Regions from separate parts of the Homo sapiens genome. Here region 2 is linked to region 1. The links are contacts of gene promoters, found by promoter capture Hi-C in blood cells and fetal thymus (Javierre and others, 2016). All regions are on one chromosome and are shown on one strand. Each heading gives the region's core, a stretch centred on a gene start or on the middle of the fragment in contact. The rest is flanking DNA. Distances are from core to core; before and after follow the strand shown.

Region 1 (7,911 bases), core at 1,367-3,866:
CCTGTCATCCCAATTTCCTACTTGAAATTCAGGATACATTTTTCCCAGAAAGAAATATGATACAAAATTTTGCTATTTTTAAACGGATGATTCAGCCAATTTATGGATGAGAGGTGTTTTGTGTATGCATGTGTGCTTGTGTGTGTATATTAGCTGCTGAACATATTGTTGGTGCTATGGGAAAATGAATTGCAGATTGACTTTCAAGCTACAATCCATTTGCCAGCTGTGGACTCCGCACGCCTATGCAGAGAAAGTAAGAGCAGTAATGACAGTGGCAAAATGCACCAGACAAGTTGTGATTAGAACTCTTCCATAAAGAAGGGAGTCTGGGGCTACTTAAGAGCAATGCAGCTGACCACATAAAATGCAAATTGAAGCAAGCTCTAGGTGGCTGTTCAGGCCCTGCCTGGGCTAAGCCAGTTTACAGAAAGCTCCAGCAGCTATCCCAGGGCCTGGCTCCATCAGTGTTTGGGAAAGTGAACTAGATTTTCACACGTGTCTCCTGGTTAAATGAGACTTAGGAAACCATGCTGGTTTGAGGGGGTGCTGAGCTTGTGTGTATACGATAGGAGGGAAGGGACAACATGGATTAGCCTAGAAGGACAATAAAAGAGTTAGAAAGTCCTTGCACCTGTGTTCACAGACCAGCAATGCCTTCCTCTTAGGGGCAGAAGCTAATATGGAGATTAGATTGCCTTCACTAATTGTCAAGAATGTCAGTAAAGGGGACCAACTTAAGTAAATTAATGTTAGTCTCACAACCTATTGCATATTTAAGATTTGATTTGCTGGTTTGCAGCTGAAATAAGACGGCTTCCTTCCCTCTAATGCATCCCTTATGCAGATGGTCCTGGCTTCCAGCATCCTAAATACAATTCCAATAGTTTTCATTAGTAATCATCAAATCTAGCTGAATCTTCTTTCAAAGTGCCTCTTTTTGCCTTTCACTACTGACCTAACCTATCTCTAGCCTCTCCCAGTTCCAACCCACCTTGATTGCTGAGGGCAAATTTACTTTCTTAAAACAATGCTTGGATTAAGTTACGCCCCTTTGCAAGACCCTTTCACCTCCCCGCAAGTACCTGCAGAATAAAGTCCAAACCTCTAGCCCACCTTTTAAGGCCCTGTGGAGTCCTCACCTGTAAATCTCCCCCGCCCTCACCACTCCTGCACACAAGGCAACAAGGTCTCCTTGGCAGCTTCTGAGTAAGGTTGTCCTTATTTCTGCCACAGTGCTTTGTCCACACCTCCTTGAATTCCTCAATTCCTCCCTCTGTCTTAAAAGAACATTTCTGAGTCTGTCTGCTCCATGAAGTATAAGTCCGAGCTCATTTTTGCCCATGCCCTGCTCACTCCTCTCCATTCCTTGCAGTGAATTGTGCTAAGCATCTCTGGCTTCCTTGTGAAAAAGGTGATGCCGTTCTCCATCAGGGTGCTGTGTACCCACTATGTGTGAGCGGTACAGAATGAATGAACATCCCAGGGCCCTAGAAAGGCGCCTGGCACATCCTGGACACTCAACAAGTATCTTTTAATTTTAATGAATAAATTCAAGATATTCGACTGTATTCATTTTCCACCCACTTTCCCCCTAGGCCAGGGACTCTCCTCCCAGGTGAGAAAAAATCATCTAGATACCTTAATTTTGATAAAGTTAGCGTTGATGTATAAAAAGCAGAACTTCCTCTGTAACCCTGTGAGAAATGAGAAGCCTCCAATCTTCTTCCCCACACCTACCCCCTACTGAGTTTCGGGTTCCTTGGAAATAACTGACCTGGATTGTTTCTGACAAAATAAAACTTTGCATCTTCTCCACAGAGCAAAGGTAACCTTACCTCCAGCCAACCCAATCATCCATACATTTTTCTTACTAGAAAAAATGTTTTTAAAAATGGAGGTGTGGCCGGGCGCGGTGGCTCACGCCTGTAATCCCAGCACTTTGGGAGGCCGAGGTGGGCGGATCATAAGGTCAGGAGTTCGAGACCAGCCTGGCTAAATGTTGACACCCCGTCTCTACTAAAAATTAGCCGGGCGTGGTGGCGCATACCTGTAATCCCAGCTACTTGGGAGGCTAAGGCAGGAGAATTGCTTGAACCCGGGAGGCGGAGGTTGCAGTGAGCAGAGATCGCGCCACTGCACTCCAGCCTGGGCGACAGAGCGAGACTCCCTCTCGGGAAAAAAACAACAACAACAACAACAAAAAAACCCCCAAACAAACAAAAAACGGAGGTGTGAGGGTAAAACGTCTACAGGCAAGAACAGCACAACAGGTGCTGAGCTGCAAAATCAACACACTAAACTCCCAAACAGACCTTCTCGACAAGCCAAAAGCTCTTTAGCTAACCTAATATTCTTTAGCTGTTGTTTCAGAGGCTTTTCGAGAACAAAACTGCCGCCCCGTCTTGGCCTTGCCGCTTTTCACCCATCACTCTACTGAGTGTGTGTCTGACTTGTTTATCTGGACGCAATCTTTGTCGCACCCAGTTATCTCGCTCAGCGACCGGGGCGACCACGTTTCCTTAAATCAGAGCCCCGTGGACTCCGCCGGAGAACTACATTACCCAGCGGCCTTCGCGCCCTTCGCAGGAAGGACGTCTGCGCACTAAGATACTCAGTTCCAAGTTTGGAGCTTTTAGCTGCCAGCCCTGGCCCATCATGTAGCTGCAGCACAGCCTTCCCTAACGTTGCAACTGGGGGAAAAATCACTTTCCAGTCTGTTTTGCAAGGTGTGCATTTCCATCTTGATTCCCTGAAAGTCCATCTGCTGCATCGGTCAAGAGAAACTCCACTTGCATGAAGATTGCACGCCTGCAGCTTGCATCTTTGTTGCAAAACTAGCTACAGAAGAGAAGCAAGGCAAAGTCTTTTGTGCTCCCCTCCCCCATCAAAGGAAAGGGGAAAATGTCTCAGTCGAAAGGTAAGAGGCTGTTTGCATTAGTTGCAAAAATGCAAAGGGTTGTGCATGCATTTATGAATGCATGGATGCAATTTTCGCCTGGCGAGTGCATTTTTAAGTTTGAGGTTTTCCACAGCTCAGTTGCATTTCCTGTTTAGTATGTGTCTTTTTTTGCAGACACAGAGAGTTCCTGTAAGGCAGGGCTTGCAGTTCAGCTGTGCATTGACGTTATTTGCATTCTTCTGCTAGGATTACTGAGCTCTTTTTGCCTTTTGCACAGTCAGGAGAGACAGAGCAGGTTGGTAGCGTCTAAATGTGCAAGGCTTTATATAATTGTAAAATTCTTTACTATGCACAGATATTGTAAGTAATTTTGTATGCAACAGGAATAGAAACTTTTAAAAACTCTATAGGTGAAGATGAAAGGTAAAACTTGAGTTAAACTACTAGGAAATTAATGTAATCTTATATTCTTTGGGGGAAATAGACCGTTGCGGTGCCAGTATTTAGCTAAATTTCCATTGATATCGCCTTGAACATTAGGTAACTTTTGATTTTTAAAGGAAGTAAAGGTGAAGGGTGAATAACAGCATATCACAAAAAAGCAGACGAGTCTTGCTCTTCTGAGATTTTGCACTTTACACCAATTGCTTATTGGCTCGCAAAATTTAGAAGCAGCAGTGAAGACCTAATGTTTTATGTCTGCCCATTTGGGGGATGCTTTGCATCTTGGGGGAAAATATTGGGGGTAAAACTGTACTTTTAAGCATTACAGTAGTGTGAAGGGACTGCACTGTTTCATTGACAAGCATAATGAAATATTTTAAGTGTGTAACTGCGTGTATTTAGTCAGCTGTAATAGGTTGGAAGTTCACGTTATGGTTGTTTTCTTTATGTTCTTTTATTTTCTTTTCTTAATTTTTGTTTTTAAACACAGTTGTATTTTGCAGGCTTAATGTCACCCTGGGAAGGGGATTTAAAAAATTCCTGATATGACATCAAAGAGCAGACTAGGTGCTGTCAGGTGCCCCTGGGACCCCAAGTCACTTGTTTCAGAACAATTGTTTCTTTACCATAGAGAAAGCATATGCCATATGAGAAGTATGGGATGATGAAGAGAGGTGTTAGATACTATTGAATTAGGCTACCCGGGGCACTCTTTGAGTAAGACATGGTGAAATTAAAGGGTCTAACAAGCTTTTTGCTACTTTTTTGGGAGGGAGTGTGGGGAGTTGTTGCACCGCTTTTTAATTCTACCTGATGGGAGTCATATATCTCAGCAGCCCAAGAAGGAAGTAGTAATCTCAAGCATTCAAAGTAGCACTCTGCTTTTCTTTGAGTATTAGGGGAGAATGGAAATCTGAAAAGTTAAGAGTGCTGAAGAACCTAGGAATTGACATATCAGGTGGAGATGTTCCTCAAGTGGGGAAAACCTAAAAATCTCCTTATTGAGTAGAGAAATAATAGTTCAGAAGAGGCAGTCCATGCTTTGATGTATTAAAGAGATGGCATTTAGTTACTTTGTATTTGGTAAACATTCGCTCATTCATTCAATTCAGTTTAATATATGTGTAATATATTGTGATATGCATGTATATACATATGTATGTGTGTATATATATGCATGTATATGTATGTATTGTGTGTGTATGTGTGCACATGATTTAGGGACACACAAAAATATTTAAAATGAAGTTTTTCCTTCGGGTTGGTGAAAACAAGAATGTAAGGAAATCATTATAATACAAGATAATAGGACAGGTATTGAAGAGAAATGGTGCTATTGGAGTTTAAAAATGGAAGTGATTTATCTATTTGGGGGATAGTCAGGAAGGTTTATGAAGAGGGTGGTGTTTACTGTGATCTTATCTTTGGACTTTAGGGTCTAAACTAAATCAGGCTCCTTTTTGCATATTTTTGGGCTCACTATGAACGTGGCTCCCTCTTAGTAGAGCCAGTTTTTGAGTTGAGAAGCCAAAGGAGATATTAGCACTGCACTCTTCCCTATGGATGTGTTTACAATGGATCAGGTACTGGTGGTCCTTCAAATCAATTCCCATTTACCCAGATGAGTTTTCTTAATTGGATTCTGCTTGGAAAGTACATCTGGAATGAACATGGGGTTCTTGTCCGAAAGGAAAATTATTGGTAGAAAGAAGTGGGTGATCATTTTAGAAATGGCAAAAGAGCCAGCCGCCTTGGCCTGGACTTTAAATGTGGAATTGGCCTTATTCAGCTACGCTATTCTCAAATGGCCAAAATACTTTTTGCAGTACCAAACTTCTTTTTTAATATTCTAACCCAAGAAATGGGAGGAAAAGTGAAAAGTGGATACAATCTCATAGTATTGAAGAATTTAACAATATGTTCAATTCAAGGACCTTTACGAACTTTCTAGATCACTATAATTCGGTTTAACAGACCTCTAATTTAAGGCACAGCAGAGGCAAAGGAATTACAGACTCTCTGGAAGCTGGAAGGACTGGGTTACTGCTCTACAGCCTTACCAACAGTGAGATTCCGAGAAAGAATTTCTTAAAAAGAAATTTTGTTTTCCACAGTTGTAACTTTAGGTGGTATGCTTTTCAGCTTGTTTATATTAGCTGTCTGGGGTTGAGTTGACATTTTTCAAATATTAAAGCAGTAGAATGCCTTTTGAGGAAATCTGAAATGTAAGTTAACAGGAAGGGCACCCAGAAAGTGCAGGAATTCCTGCACACTACAGGAAGACAAGCTACAGGAAAAATGTGTCATCTACACTACCCGGGAGAGAAAAACTATTGTTATCAGCCATAATGATCTCCGGAGGGAGGGAGAGAAAGAGGGAGGTAGGGAGATCTGGCATCCCCCAGTTCACCTGAAAATACACAAAAAGTTTGACCCTGTTAAAATACACTTTTCTCACTTCTCCTCCTATTCACCTTTAAAAAATATTAGTTTATTTTAGTTTTAGAGAGCAATAAGTAAATCATGTAAGAAATGCCTATGAGGCACAATTCAGAAGCATATAGCAGAGTGGTAGGAAAGGTCTTAACTCTACTGGGGTTCTTTGCTTCTGTAATTCATTCCACCCTTGGGAAATGAAATGTGTAAATTTCTTGTTCTCTATAAATTCCTTTGTTAGGTTGTACCAGACGGACTTGTCATGCTTAGCCTGTAATCTGAGCCAGTATGTTTTATAACCCCGTACATCTCAGGACACAAAATCAGAATAGGTAGCTTGGGTTTCCTGAGCTTGCTTTGTATTAGCATTGCATTCAGTTCTTTAGAGCATGCGGCCTGTTAACTGTAGGGGGCTTCAGGGGTCTCTGGTTGGTAAATTTAATGTTGGAGAAAAGAGTTGAGATTCTCTTGTCTTTGTTTTTCAGATTAGTGTTACTTTAATGACTCCCCAGTATTTTAAAATCTGAAAGATCTACAAGGAATATTTTTAAAACTTAAAAGAAATTTCATAAATAACCCTTGTTCATTATAGAAACATTTCATAGAAAAGGAAAAATAAGAATGACTAGTTACTGCAGTCTACACTTTGGCATTTATTCTCTTGGACTTTTTTTTTCTATCTATGTGTATGAAGCATCCAAAATGTGTGTAAAACTAAGTCTATTTCGTTCCCTCTTGTTTCACTTACCAATATATGGCAAAATATTCCCAAGTTTATATATTTCTACATTCATAGTATCCTCTTCCATTGTATTTATTTAAATAGAATCTTAATGTTTATTAACTTTCACTATTGTGAATATTTCCGTGATGATCATACCAGTTCCTACATTATCATGCATACTATGCCCTTAGATTAAATTCCAGGGAGCAAAACCACAGGCTTTGAATGTCCAGTTCTTCTTCACTCTCCATTCTCTTTTCTTCCTTCTGAAAATAGCTTTTTATTATTGCAAAAAAAAAATGACATATGCTAATCAAAAAATTCAAACCAAAGATAAATTCACAATAAGAATATAAAACTCACTCAAAGTCATACCACCCAGAGCTAATTACTGTTAGTTTTTTGGGTACTATCTCCATATTTGTATGTACATGTTATTTTACACACTATATATTGTATTTTGTAACTTGCTTTTTTATACTCTACCATATATCTTGGATATCTTTCTGTAGTAGTACACATAAGGTTACCTATTTTTTAACAACCGTGAATTTTAATTTGTAAGAATGTAGCCATTTACTTAATGTCATATTGAGTTTTCAAACAGTTTCCATTTTTTTGCACAGCTATACACAGTACTGTAAGGAATACCTGGAACATACATCTTTATACATTTGCCCAATTATTTCTTTAGGATGATTCCTAGAGGTGGAAGTCCTGGGTCAAAGGGCATGTATAGATATATTGCTAAATTGCCCTTCATAGAGGTAACACTAATTCTCATTTCTACCAATAATATTTAGACGTGCCCATTCTGTCCTTTCAAGCATAATGGTACATATTGCCAAGTAAATTGCTCTTCAGGAAGATGGTACCTTTCTTCATCCTGGGTATAACAATTTGAAAAAATCTTTGGCAGTTTGATGAAAGCTATTAATATTCTACTCTAATATTATTAGTGATAAGGCAGTTGCATTTTTCAGTTTTTTTGACATTTGTGTTTCATGTGCCCAAATTTCTTTTTTTCTCATGAAATATATCCTTAAAATTTTAATTTGGGTGGCCAGGCATGGTGGCTCATGCCTGTAACCCCACTTTGGGAGGCCGAGGCAAGTGGATCACCTGAGGTCAGGAGTTCAAGACCAGCCTGGCCAACATAGTGAAACCCTGCCTCCACTAAAAATACAAAAATTAGTCAGGCGTGGTGGTGCACACCTGTAATCCCAGCTTCTTGGGAGAATCGCTTGAACCTGGGAGGTGGAGGTTGCAATGAGCAGAGATTGTGCCACTGCACTGTAGCCTGGGTGACAGAGCCAGACTTCATCTCAAAAAAAAAAAAAAATTAATTAATTTGGGGATCAAATTATTTTCAAAGTTAGCCAGAAAATAGCAATATTGTAGAGGT
Region 2 (7,911 bases), core at 2,639-5,138, about 57 Mb before region 1:
TAATCCTCCAAGCCTGGTTGACATATTCCACAGAACACCCAAATCTTTTTCACCAAGCAACATCTTGCTTAACAATTTGGTTTCTGGGCACCTTGAAAGCAGGCAGAAGGGTACCTTTGATTCACTAAAAAGATATTTCTCTCCCCTGCCACCTCCCCATCCACCTTCCCCCAGAGTAAACTATGAAATTGGTATTCTAGTTTTTATATATCTGAGCCTGGAGAGCTGAAGCTCAGACCCTGGTCTGAAACACAGCATTACCTACTGCCTTCTCTATTTTCATATTCACGCTACAGCAGATTGCAAGGCAAGTCCCAAGAGGAGTTCCTTCAACGTTTTAAATGATGTTTTAATTAAGATGTATAGGTTCGTGAAAAAAAAATTTTTTACAAAATACAACTTTTCAAAATTGTTAACTAAATATCAACATAAATCTGTCCCAGAGACTTTTATGTACAAGCAAAAATGAAGTATTAGGAATTGTTGAATTTACCTTCTGCCTGAAACAACTAAAAATGGGACAAAATGTATGAAACAATAGTTTTCAGACATTTCACATTACACAAGCAGAGCAGAACAAGATCCCTGAAAGTGGGAAAGCAAATTCAGTGAGCTCTAGTTATCCAAACTTACTGCCTAGACAGAGGATCCAGGCAGCAGCACAGGAAGGGAAACCCAGGCTGAGCCAGGCAGCCTCCCTGAGTTGAGCAGAAGGAGCTCAGAGTCTGGAAATGCCAAGATCCTTAGAATCGACAGGGTAGAAAAACTGGAGAGAAGGAAACTGCACAAAGAGAAAGCTCCAGAGATCTACAGAGCGTCCCCGCAAAGTCTGGAAAATAACCACCCAAAAGAATCAGAGGGAACAATCCCCTGAGTTCACACAGTGCTGGAAACAGTTCGTATTTCCACCAGGCAAAGTGGAAAACCTGGTATATGAAGGGGCATCAGATTACTCAGAATACTCAGAAGGGAAGTGCCTTAGCATGGAAAGAATAATCCTCGACTAAATGTTTCTCTGGTGCCATGTAATAAACTGTGTCCAAATAACTGCACCCCATAGCAAAGTTCAAGAACATTTATAGTAATACAAAAATATATAGCACCCCACCAATGTGATACCCAATCAAAGATTACCAGGCACGGGCAACATAGTAAGACACACAAAAATTTAAAAATTAGCCAAGCAGGCCGGGCATGGTGGCTCCCGCCTGTAATCCCAGCACTCTGGGAGACCCAGCTGGGTGGATCACTTGAGGTCAGGAGTTCGAGACCAGCCTGGTCAACATGGTGAAACCCCATCTCTACTAAAAATACAAAAATTAGTCAGGCATGGTGGCACACGCCTGTAATCCCAGCTACTCAGGAGACTGAGGCAGGAGAATTGCTTGAACCAAGAAGTCGGAGGTTGTAGTGAGCTGAGATCGCGCCACTGCACTCCAGCCTAGGCAACACAGCAAGACCCTGTCTCAAAAAAAAAAAAAAAAATTAGCCAAGCATTGTGGCACATGCCTGTAGTTCTAGCTACTCAGGAGGCTGAGGCAGGAGTATGGTTTGAGCCCGGGAGGTCAAGGCTGCAGTGAGCTATGACTGCACAACTGCACTCTAGCCTGGGAGACAAAGTGAAACCCTGTCTCAAAACAAACGAAAAAGACAAAGATTACCAGGCATACAAAGAAGTGGGAAAATACATCTCATAATGAGAATAATCATTGATCAAAACTGACCCAGAACCAATGCAGGTAGTAATCAGTAGATAAGGATATTAATACAAATACAACTATATTCCATATGTTCAAGAAGCTAGAGAAAAAATTGAACACATTAAGTATAGACATGAAAGATACAATAAAGCCCCAAATCAAACTTCTAGAGGTGAAAAATTCATCTAAAATGAAAAATATACTGGAAGAGATTAACAGCAGATTAGATGCTGTGAGATGAAAAGACTAATGAACTTAAAGACATCAAAATAGAAACTGTCCTAAATGAAACACCAAGACTTCAAAAACAGAATGAAAAATATACTGGATGAGATTAACAGCAGATCAGATACTATAAAAGAAAAGATTAATGAACTTGAAGACAAACAGAAATTGTCCAAAATAAAAGACCAAGACTTCAATAACAGAATGAAAAATATACTGGATGAGATTAACAGCAGATCAGATACTATAAAAGAAAAGATTAATGAACTTTAAGACATACAGAAATTGTCCAAAATAAAACACCAAGACTTCAAAAACAGAAAAACAATCAGTAAGCTGTGGGACAACTTGAAGAGCTCTGATACATGTATATACATTATCATTATACACATTCCACAGGTATTATTTCCCAAGTCCTTAAAGGAGAGGAGAAATAAGCGAGACAGAAAAAAAAATGCTTTAGAAATAATGGCCAAAAATTTTCCAAGTTTAGTGAAAACCATACACCCACAGAGCTAGGAAACTCAATAAATCCCAATTACATGAAATGTGAAAATGACTCCAAGGCACATCAAAATCAAATTGTTTTAAAAAATGAGAATACACTGAAATAAGCAAATATATATATATGTATATATATACACATTATATGCATAAGAACAAAGATAAGAGTACATTTGGCATGATTCTATTTTTACAAAACTCTAGAAAAAGTAAACTAACATATGGTGACAGACAGCAGATCAGAGGTTTCCTCAGGATGGAGAATGGGGTGAAGAGAAGCAGGAGGATGAGATTATAAAAGGTAAAAAGTTTCCTTTTCATCGCTTTTGTACGTCAGCTCACCTGAGGTGCTGCTGGGAGCAGTGAGGCTCCGAGGTCCTGGTCTCTGATCAGCCTTTCCTCCAGTCGGGCAGGCTGGGAGGCAGCCAGGGCTGAAGTGAGGAGAGGAAGTTTTCAGAATCTGGATGTCTTCCTTAACCACTCCCCAGAGGGCGCAGATAACAATCTTCACAAATCAGAACAATACCTGAACAATACCTGTACTGCCATCTATATTTCAAGACTTGTGTTTATCTCCCTGACACACTCCAACCCCCTCCAACATTCCAGTCTCACCCATATGTTCTCCCACCTCCTTCCTCAGAGCCAAAATCCAAATGGTCTGGCCCAGTCATAAAGCAGTTTAAAACACAGACTTTGACTCTCCAAACAAGAGCGGTTTATTTAGGTCTAACCTGTTTGCAAACCTCTCAGGGATACGCCAATCTGAGCAGCATACCATTTCAACTCACTTAGGCCTACTAATCACAATCCCAAAATCTCTCCAAGAGAACACCACACAGCACCATCCTCACCTAGTTCTGCTTCTGTGTCAGATTCCTCTTTCACGATGTGGCTCAGAAGCTCCCCAGGCCCTGAGGATGAATTCTCAAGTCCCAACTCCTGAGGCACCACTTCAAGATGGGGCTCCACTTCCCCCACTTGGCAGCTTGGAGATTCCATCTTCTCTGATAAGATGTCCTGTCCTAGAACCTGGATACTGATCTAGAGACCATATATTAATTAGTAATTACTGAAGAATCCAGAGTAAGGATCTCTAAAAGACACAAAGCTTACTCTCTACAACAGATCATAAGACAATTTCTAAGGATGTGGAGAAAGAGAAAACCAGCTTTTATTTCTAGTCCAGCAGGAACCAGGGAAAGAAACGTCCCAAAAGACACCAAAAGCTGAGGCCCGAATCAGGCGTGGGAGACCTTCAAGACATGCCACTAACGTGCTTCTACTGGATATGCGCCACCAATGAAAACTCAGGCATCTTTTAAATAACTTCTCAAACATTCTAGTCTAAAGGTGGAATGCGCTGGGAGACTTTACCCTCAATCCTCAATAGCTAAAGAGTGTTGAGAGTCAGAGAGTGTTAGAATTACGTGAGGTATGGGGGAACCCAGCTGTGGTATAATAAGAAATACACATTTAGTCTTTGTCCCCAGTTCCCATTCCCGCAGAGCTCCTAAAACCCTGGTAATTTCTTGAGGGACAGGTGAAAGAAGAGTCTTTGTTATTCATAAGGAGCCCTTCTCAACCACACCTGAGTTTATGCTAGGCTCCTAGATAGCTTCAGGATGGGGGCTGGTTGCCAGAGGAACCAACCTTGAGATTAAAAGGTTGGAACTTTCAGTATCTCCACCCAGCTTCTGAGGAGGGGAGGGCAGCTGGAGATACTCAATCACCAACGGCAAATGACTGTATCAAGTGTGCCAAAGCAGTGAAGCCTCCATAAAAATCCCTAAACCATGAGGTTCAGGAAGCTTCCAGGTTGGTGACCTCATGGAGGTACTGGTAACGTAGCACGCCAGGAGAAGCATGGAAGCTCCACGCTCTTTCCCCCACACCTTGCTCTATGCAGCTCTTCTCTCTGGCTGTTAATGAGTTGTATCCTTTAGAGTAAGTCAGTAACAGGAAGTAAAATCCTTCCCTGAGTTCTGTAAGTCATTCTAACTAATTATCAAACTTGAAGAGAAGACTGTGGGAACCTCCGAATTTATAGCCAATTTGTCAGAAGTACAGGTGGCCCCTGGGACTTGTGACTGGCATCTGAGAACAGGAGCAGTCTTGGATTGAGCCCTGAACCTCCAGAGTTAGCTTCAGAACTGAATTGCTGGACACTGTACTGGTGTTAGAGAATCACAGAATTGGCCATTGGTGTGAAAAGCCCCACCCATTTTGTGTCATAAGTGGTATCAGAAAAAAGACAACACACCTGATGGGACCAGAGAGGAGCCCTGTGTTTCACTCGCAGATCATAATACCCTCTGCTTACCCATTGCCACAGTCTCTGGGGGTCCCCCTTCAAGCTTTCCACAAGGGTCACTGCCTCTTCTCCACTTCCTGGACACTGTTTCCGCACCCACATCTGGATCTCCCCAGGCAGGATGGTCAGAAACTGCTCCAACATGAGGATCTCTAGGATCTGCTCTTTGGTGTGAACCTCTGGCTGTAGCCACTGGAAACAGAGCTTCCGAAGTTGCTTCAAGGTCTCATGAGGCCCAGACATCACCTGGTAACGGAACTGCCTGAAAAGCTGGCGTGCGGTCTCAGGGCTGGAGAGTTCCTCTTGAAGGGCAGCATCTGATTCTGAGAACTGGGAGTCCTCGGCCTTCGCCAGCGATGGCAGCAGGCCTAGGGCCTGCCCCAAGTCAACGGGCATTGTCCAGCCTGGCAAGTCCTTTTAAGTAAAGTGCTTCTGCAGTGGAATTGTCTCCGGCAAGAACTAGGTCTTCACCAGGACACTAAAAAGGGAATGAGATTGAGTGCTACACAGAGGAAGGGGACACATTTTCAGAAAGAACAAATTCACATGCCCTACCCGAGAAGCCATGGGGTCAACTATGGAGCTTTTGAAATTGCTCAATGGATACACGATTCTATTTTGAAAGATTATAAACTTGAAGCCACAAAGCAAACTACTGATACTGTATCTAAACAGCCACCATTTCCCTGCCCATTTTATAATGTTCTTTCTTGGTCTTCAAATGTCCAGACAAAATGAAGAATAAAATGCACCATACGAAACTTTTTCACTATAGGTTTCCAGGTAAACGGCTCTTCTACAAAACACTTCTACATCTTCATCTATATATCTGCATACTAAAAAATAAAGCTGGAAAAAGATATTAATGCCCTAGGAATAAAAGCTAATGCCTACATGCTTCTGTAATAAATAGGAGGTTAAAGAGAACAAGTTAAGTCTTCCAAAAGGTACCAAAAGTACTTCCAAAAGTATACCAAAAAGGTGTAATGAAACTTCCAAGAGAGGTCTTTTGAGTGCCATATTAAAATAGGTCTATTTGAGAATTTATGAAAAAAACAAGTATCATACCTGACACTTTCAACCTTGGGGTTAAAGAGGGTGAGAAGGCTGGGCATGGTGGCTCACGCCTGTAATCCCAGCACTTTGGGAGGCCGAGGCAGGTGGATCACGTGGTCAGGAGATCGAAACCATCCTGGTTAACACGGTGAAACCCCGTCTCTACTAAAAAAAAATACAAAAAATTAGCCGGGCATGGTGGCGGGCACCTGTAGTCCCAGCTACTCAGGAGGCTGAGGCAGAAGAATGGGGTGAACCCAGGAGGTGGAGCTTGCAGTGAGCCAAGATCGCGCCACTGCACTCCAGCCTGGGGGACAGAGAGAGACTCCGTCTCACAAAAAAAAAAAAAAAAAAAAAAAAGAGGGTTGAGAAGACTAACTACCTTGAAAATACTCCTATGGTGTTGATATAAATAATCACTATTTTATGTGAATGGTATCAAATTTTAGAAGATCACAACTAAGACAGTAGAAAGAGAAATATTAAATCGCAAATAATATTATTCTAAAAAGGATCATCCACTACTTCTAGTTAACTTTCTTGCAAGTAATCACAATATAGGATTACTGGGTAAATCCTTAAATGTTATGAAGAATTTGGTGGTCATCATTTCTCCCTAAGACTAATCACAGCAATTTTTAAAAAAAGATACCCCATCACTTGAGGATCTGGCTTAATCAGAGATCAGTACAATACTCTAGCTTTTTGTAGCTGCTTATTTCTTAAGGTGTAGGAAACAATGTCTTCATCCTTACCGTTTCACCAAAATAATTTATCCGACATTGGAAAATCATTTAAAAACTAAAAAAGAAAAACAATTTTTTTTCAAGGGCCTGAGAAAGGAAAAAGCGAAGTCAAAAGAATTACAGTTGACCATTGAATAATGCAGGAGATAGGGGCGCCAACCCCCCACACAGTAGAAAATCCATATATAACTTCTGATTCCCCAAAAGCTTAGCAGTCTATTGACTGATGCCTTAAATAGTTGATTAACATACATTTTGCATGTTACTGTATTTTTGTGATAAAGTAAGTTAGACAAAATATTATTAAGAAAATTATAAGGAAGAGGCCAGGCCAGGTGGCTCACGCCTGTAATCCCAGCACTTTGGGAGGCTGAGGTGGCTGGATCACAAGGTCAGGAGATCGAGACCATCCTGGCTAACACGGTGAAACCCCTTCTCTACTAAAAATACAAAAAATTAGCCAGGCGTGGTGGCGGGCGCCTGTGATCCCAGCTACTCGGGAGGCTGAGGCAGGAGAATGGCATGAACCTGGGAGGCAGAGCTTGCAGTGAGCTGAGATCGTGCCACTGCACTCCAACCTGGGCGACAGAGCGAGACTCCGTCTCAAAAAAAAAAGAAAAAGAAAATTATAAGGAAGAGAAACTACATTTACTATTCACTAAGTGGAAGTGAATCACCATAAAGGTGGTCACCTTCATCATCTTCACACTGAGTAGCCTGAAGAGGACAAGGAACAGGAGAAGGAGAAGGAAGGGTTGGTCTTGCAGTCGCAGGAGTCACAGAGGCAGATGAAAATCCTTGTATAAATGGACCCTTGCAACCGTAATCCAATACCAAATGTTTTTTATGTGGTCCTCATTAAATTTATTTTTTGCTTAAAAAGAAACCCAGGTCTGAGCGCAGTGGCTCACGCCTGTAATCCTAGCATTCTGGGCGTCCAAGGCAGGGGGATCATTTGAGGTCAGGAGTTCAAGACCAGCCTGTCCAACATGGCAAAACCCCATCTCTACTAAAAATACAAAAATTAACCGGGCGTGGTGGTGAATGCCTGTAATCCCAGCTACCAGGGAGGCTGAGTGAGGCAGGAGAATTGCTTGAACCCAAGGGGGCAGAGGTTGCAGTGAGCCGAGATCACACCACTGCAAGAAAAAAAAAAAGAAACCCAGGCCAGGCGCGGTGGGTCACGCCTGCAATCCCAGCACTTTGGAAGCCCTAGGCGGGAGGACCACCTGTGGTCAAGAGTTTGAGACCAGCCTGGCCAACGCAGTAAAACCCCATCTCTACTAAAAATACAAAAATTAGCTGGGCATGGTGGTGCGCACCTGTAATCCCAGCAACTCAGGAGGCTGAGGTAGGAGAACAGCCT

What was found. Contacts are between HindIII fragments. The CHiCAGO score rates a contact against its expected background, and 5 or more counts as called.
Region 2: a fragment that was not itself captured here is called in contact with the fragment with the promoter of MAP2K6 in region 1 in 2 of 17 cell types (total CD8 T cells and total CD4 T cells); the score reaches 11.2 in total CD8 T cells.

The regions. Positions count from the first base shown.
Region 1 is chr17:69,412,081-69,419,991 of GRCh38, forward strand. It overlaps MAP2K6 (mitogen-activated protein kinase kinase 6), which reads left to right and starts at 2,617. Exons shown (of 12, transcript NM_002758.4): 1 at 2,617-2,920. The coding sequence starts at 2,905. The HindIII fragment of the contact is 8,167 bases long and covers 1-4,094 here.
Region 2 is chr17:11,987,691-11,995,601 of GRCh38, forward strand. It overlaps ZNF18 (zinc finger protein 18), which reads right to left. Exons shown (of 7, transcript NM_001303281.2): 2 at 4,753-5,221; 3 at 3,284-3,473; 4 at 2,772-2,860. The coding sequence starts at 5,139. Among named protein-coding and RNA genes, the nearest start is that of ZNF18, 5.8 kb to the right of the region's middle. RefSeq lists an enhancer at 3,601-4,255. The HindIII fragment of the contact is 700 bases long and covers 3,539-4,238 here.